2 separate regions of the Homo sapiens genome follow, and region 1 is linked to region 2. Evidence: promoter capture Hi-C in 16 types of primary human blood cells and fetal thymus (Javierre and others, 2016). All regions are on one chromosome and are shown on one strand. Each heading gives the region's core, a stretch centred on a gene start or on the middle of the fragment in contact. The rest is flanking DNA. Distances are from core to core; before and after follow the strand shown.

Region 1 (2,700 bases), core at 134-2,633, 300 kb before region 2:
AGAATGCACTCATCACAAAGCAGTTTCTCTGAAAGCTAATTTATGGTTTTTATCTGAAGAAATTTCCTTTTACGCCATAGGATTCCATGTCCTCCCAGATATCACTTCACAGATTCTACAAAAACAGTGCTTCCAAGCTGCTGAATGAAAAGAAAGATTTAACTCTGTGAGATGAATGCCCACATCACGAGGCTATTTCTCAAAAACTTCATTCTAGTTTTTATCCTGGGATATTCACTTTTTTGCCATTGGCCTCAATGAGCTCCCAAATATCCATTTGCAGAATGGGCAAAAACAGTGTTTGCACACTGCTGAATCCACAGAAACGATTAACTCGGTGAGATGAATGCTCAGATCACTAAGCACTTTCTCAGAAAGTTTCTTTCTAGTTTTTATCTGAAAACATTTCCTTTTTAACCATAGTCCTCAATACGTTCATAAATATAACTTTGCAGATTCTACAAAAAACAGTGTTTCCAAACTGCTAAATGAAAACAATGGTTTGTCTCTGCGAGTTGAATGCACACAGCACAAAGCAGTTTCTCAGATAGCTTCTTTCTAGTTTTTGTCCAGGGAATTTCACTATTTTGCCCTTGGCCTCAATGAGCTCCCAAATGTCCATTCACAGAATGGACAAAAACAGAATTTGCAAACTGCAGAATCCACAGAAATTTTAACTCTGTGAGATGAATGCACACATGACAAAGCAGTTTCTCAGAAAGCTTCTTTCTAGTTTTTGTCTGGTATTTCCTTTTTCACCCCAGGCCTCAGTGAGCTCCCAAATTTCCCTGTGCAGATTCTATGAAAACAGTGCTTCCAAACTGCTGAATGAAAAGAAAGGTTTAGCCGTTCAAGATGAATGCACACATCGCAATGCAGTTTCTCACAGGGCTTCCTTCTAGTTTTTATCCTGGGATAGTCCCTTGTTTGCCATTGGCCTCAATGAGCTCCCAAATATCCATTTGCAGAATGGACAAAAACATTGATTGTAAACTGCTGAATTCACAGAAAGAATTAACTCTGTGAAAGGAATGCACACATCACAAAGCAGGTTCTCTGAAAGCTTGTTTCTAGTTTTTATCCAAAGATATTATCTTTTTCACCATAGGCCTCAATGCACTCCCAGATATCCCTTTGTGGATACTTCCAAAACAGTGTTTGCAGACGACTGAATGAACCGAAAGGTTTATTGCTGTGAGGCAAATGCACACATCCAAAGCAGTTTCTCAGATAGCTTCCTTCCAGTTTTTATCCTGGGATATTCACTTTTTTGCCATGGGCTTCAATGAGGTCCCAAATGTCCATTTGCAGAATGGACAAAAACAGTGTTTGCAATCTGCTGAATCCACAGAAATTTTAACTCCATAAGATGAATGCGCACATCAGAAAGCAGTTTCTCAGTTAGCTTCTTTCTTGTTTTTATCTGAAGATATTTCCTTTTTCACCATAGGCCTCAATGCACTCCCAGATATCCCTTCGCAGACCCTACAAAAACAGTGTTTCCAAACTGCATAATGAAAAGAAAGTTTTGACTCTGAAATGTGAATTCACACATCACAAAGTTGTTTCTCAGATAGCTTCCTACTATATTTTTTTCTGGGTTATTCTCTTTTTTGCCATTTGCCTCATTAAGCTCCCAAATACCACTTTGCAGATTCTACAACAACTGTGTTTACAAACTGCTGAATCCAAAGAAAGCTTTGACTCTGTGAGATGAATGCACACAGCACAAAGCAGTTTATCAGAAAGTTTATTTCTAGTTTTTATCTGAAGATATTTCCTTTTTCACCATATGCCTCATTTAGCTCCCAAATATCCCTTCACAGATTCTGACAAAACAGTGTTTCCAGACTGCTGAATGAAAAGAAAGGCTTAACTCTGTGAGATGAATGCACACATCATGAAGCGGTTTCTCAGATAGCTTCCTTCTAGTTTTTTTCCTGGGATATTGGCTTTTTCACCATTGGCTTCAATGAGCTCCCAAATGTCCATTCACAGAAGGGGCAAAAACAGTGTTTTCAATCTGCTAAATCCACAGAAAGGATTACCTCTGTGAGATGAAGGTACACATCACAAAGCAGTTTCTCGTAAAATGCACTCCCAAGTATAAACTCAAAGATTCTACAAACACAGTGTTTCCAAACTGTGGAGTGAAGTCATAGAGATGAATTCACACATCACAAAACGGGTTTCTCAGGTAGCTTCCTTTTAGTTTTTTTCCTGGGATATTCATTTTTTTGCCATTGGCATCAATGAGCTCCCAAATGTCCATTTGCAGAATGGGGAAACAGTGTTTGCAAACTTCTGAGTCTACAGAAAGGCTTAACTCTGTGCGATGAATGGACAGATGACTAAGCACTTTCTCAGAAAGCTTATTTCTAGTTTTTATCTGAAGATATTTCCATTTTAACCATAGTCCTCAATACCCTCCCAAATATCACTTCACAAATCCTTCCAAAATAGTGATTCCAGACTGCTGAATGAAAAGAAATGTTTATTGCTGTGAGGTGAATGCACATATCACAAAGCAGTTTCTCAGATATTTTTCTTCCAGTTTTTATCCTGGGATACTTGGTTTTTTGCCATTGCCTTCAATGAGCTCCCAAACGTCCATTTGCAGAATGGACAAAAACAGTGTTTGCAAGCTGCTGAATCTGCAGAAAGTTTAACTCCATGAGATGAATGCACACATGAAAAAGC
Region 2 (2,700 bases), core at 41-2,540:
GTATTTTTAAAATATCAAAAAGCTTTTTAATTTAGTTATCAAGTCTAATTTTTTATTGCCTGATGTCTTTCTGTGTTACACCTTTTTTTCTGAATATAATTGCTTGTTATTTACCTTGAGTTGAGTACTGAGTTCATTTATTTTCTCTCTTAATATTACAATGATAAATAACTTAAAGATAAAAATAATTATATGCAAAATTTTGTTTACTTGTGTTCTTTATCAAGATGTGGAGTACATGGTAAGCTATAGGTTTACCTTTAGGATACAAAGCTTGATATATTTAATCATGATATTCTTTAGTTCCTCCATTCCATTTGTTATTTTTCCCATTTTATATATGAAAAAGTTTAGGCACAATGAGACTAAGATCTGTACACAATATCATGTGGCTAATAGTCAGTGAAGATAAAATGTAAAAATTAGGCATCTGATTCTAAAAAACACTCTGTCCAATAAATTATGGTGCTTTTTTTCCCTCACCTTAAAATTATGTTTTCTAAACAGATCCATATAATTTTTCATAGTCATCCTTAAATTGGGTTTTGATTTGCAAAATGCCCTGAATTCTAAACATGACAGTTCTCCAAGTGAATTCTAAAGTTTCAGATACATCTGGGGAATGCTGCCTTGCATCATGCTGTTTTATCCTCTTCCAGGATATGCTTCCAGAAGTGTTTGATTGTATTCTTAGACAATTCTGTTTGGATGTGGCATAAATTCTCAAATCTAACTGCCATGGAGTATCTTACTGCAGCCTCAAACATTCACTCAGTTCAGTTGATTCTGAAATGTGGTGGCATCATCCTTAATTTCAAAGTGAACTCACCTGATGTTTTATAGTTACCCTGAAACAAGTTAAAAATAACCAGAATAACAAACTCTGCACCGTAGCCTCATGAACATGAGTGGTTAAAAAAAAAAAAAAAACGAAAAAAAAAAGAAACTAGGAAATTGACAGGAATTCAAGCCTCTGCTCCTCCTCTTTTTACTGCTGTTTTTCTATGGGGAAAAAAATGCTGTAAGGGTGATTGAGAGAATATCCATCCATGTACAATCATAGGAAAAATGCCTGACATGTCAACATCATAAAATCATGTTTGTGTACATAAATGAATGTGTGTATGTGTTTTTCTGTGTCTGTGTGTGTCTCTGTATGAGAGAGAAGAGGTATCTGTGTTCATTATGTCATGAATAACATAGCTCAACTTAGTCTTGGGTTTATAGATTTAGGGATTCCATCAGTGTTACAGAAAATAATCCTGACCAAAATTATTTTATTGTTCAAAATGTATGTGTCAAATTGCAATCCTTGTGCTATTCACAGAAAAATCAATTATCCAAATACCAAACTGGATTTCGAGCAAGTGAACAACATAACGGAATTCATCTTGCTTGGCCTGACACAGAACGCAGAGGCACAGAAACTCTTGTTTGCTGTGTTTACACTCATCTACTTTCTCACCATGGTAGACAACCTAATCATTGTGGTGACAATCACCACCAGCCCAGCCCTGGACTCCCCCGTGTATTTTTTTCTGTCTTTCTTTTCCTTCATAGATGGCTGCTCCTCTTCTACCATGGCCCCCAAAATGATATTTGACTTACTCACTGAAAAGAAAACTATTTCCTTCAGTGGGTGCATGACCCAGCTCTTTGTAGAACATTTCTTTGGGGGAGTTGAGATCATTCTGCTCGTGGTGATGGCCTATGACTGCTATGTGGCCATCTGCAAGCCCCTGTACTACCTGATCACAATGAACAGGCAGGTATGTGGCCTCCTGGTGGCCATGGCATGGGTCGGGGGATTTCTTCACGCTCTGATTCAAATGCTTTTAATAGTCTGGCTGCCCTTCTGTGGCCCCAATGTCATTGACCATTTCATCTGTGACCTTTTCCCTCTGCTAAAACTCTCCTGCACTGACACTCACGTCTTTGGACTCTTTGTTGCCGCCAACAGTGGGCTGATGTGTATGCTCATTTTTTCTATTCTTATTACCTCTTACGTCCTAATCCTCTGCTCACAGCGGAAGGCTCTCTCTACCTGCGCCTTCCATATCACTGTAGTCGTCCTATTCTTTGTTCCCTGTATATTGGTGTACCTTCGACCCATGATCACCTTCCCTATTGATAAAGCTGTGTCTGTGTTTTATACTGTGGTAACACCCATGTTAAACCCTTTAATCTACACCCTCAGAAACACAGAGGTGAAAAATGCCATGAAGCAGCTCTGGAGCCAAATAATCTGGGGTAACAATTTGTGTGATTAGAGAAGATAAACACAGAACCTACTCATATTTTAACAACAGGTATGACTAATGAAAAGGGTAAAGGTCTTGAGGTCAGAATAGTGAGTTTAAGTATATTTTATTCCCCTCATTTTCTGGAATCTTTAATGATGCCTTTTCATAAAAGATCAATATCTGATTAAATGATGACTAATGTTTCTGCCAATTTGAAACTTCTTCACATTTACAAATTATTAATCAGGGGGACATTGCTAGTCAACATAAAAATGTTACAGTGTATGGAAAACCCATGAGTTTATGTGTTTAGTAGAATAATTATCTGCAAAGCTTCGGTATAGAGTATATAACTAACAGGCCAAATAATTAAAATAAACAAAAAGACCTAATGGCTAAATCTTTTGTTGAAAATGCATAGTTTTAATCCCAACTAATAAAATCGAAGTAGAACTAT

Evidence for each region. The method cuts DNA at HindIII sites, captures the fragments that hold promoters and counts their contacts. A CHiCAGO score of 5 or more calls a contact.
Region 1: a contact is called between a fragment that was not itself captured here and the fragment with the promoter of OR4C5 in region 2, in 1 of 17 cell types (fetal thymus). The highest score is 5.0, in fetal thymus.

What each region holds. Positions count from the first base shown.
Region 1 is chr11:48,666,620-48,669,319 of GRCh38, reverse strand. No RefSeq gene overlaps it. Among named protein-coding and RNA genes, the nearest start is that of OR4A47, 180 kb to the right of the region's middle. The HindIII fragment of the contact is 635 bases long and covers 1,066-1,700 here.
Region 2 is chr11:48,365,055-48,367,754 of GRCh38, reverse strand. OR4C5 (olfactory receptor family 4 subfamily C member 5) reads left to right here and starts at 1,290. Exons shown (of 1, transcript NM_001348223.2): 1 at 1,290-2,270. The coding sequence starts at 1,290. The coding sequence ends at 2,270. The HindIII fragment of the contact is 2,303 bases long and covers 276-2,578 here.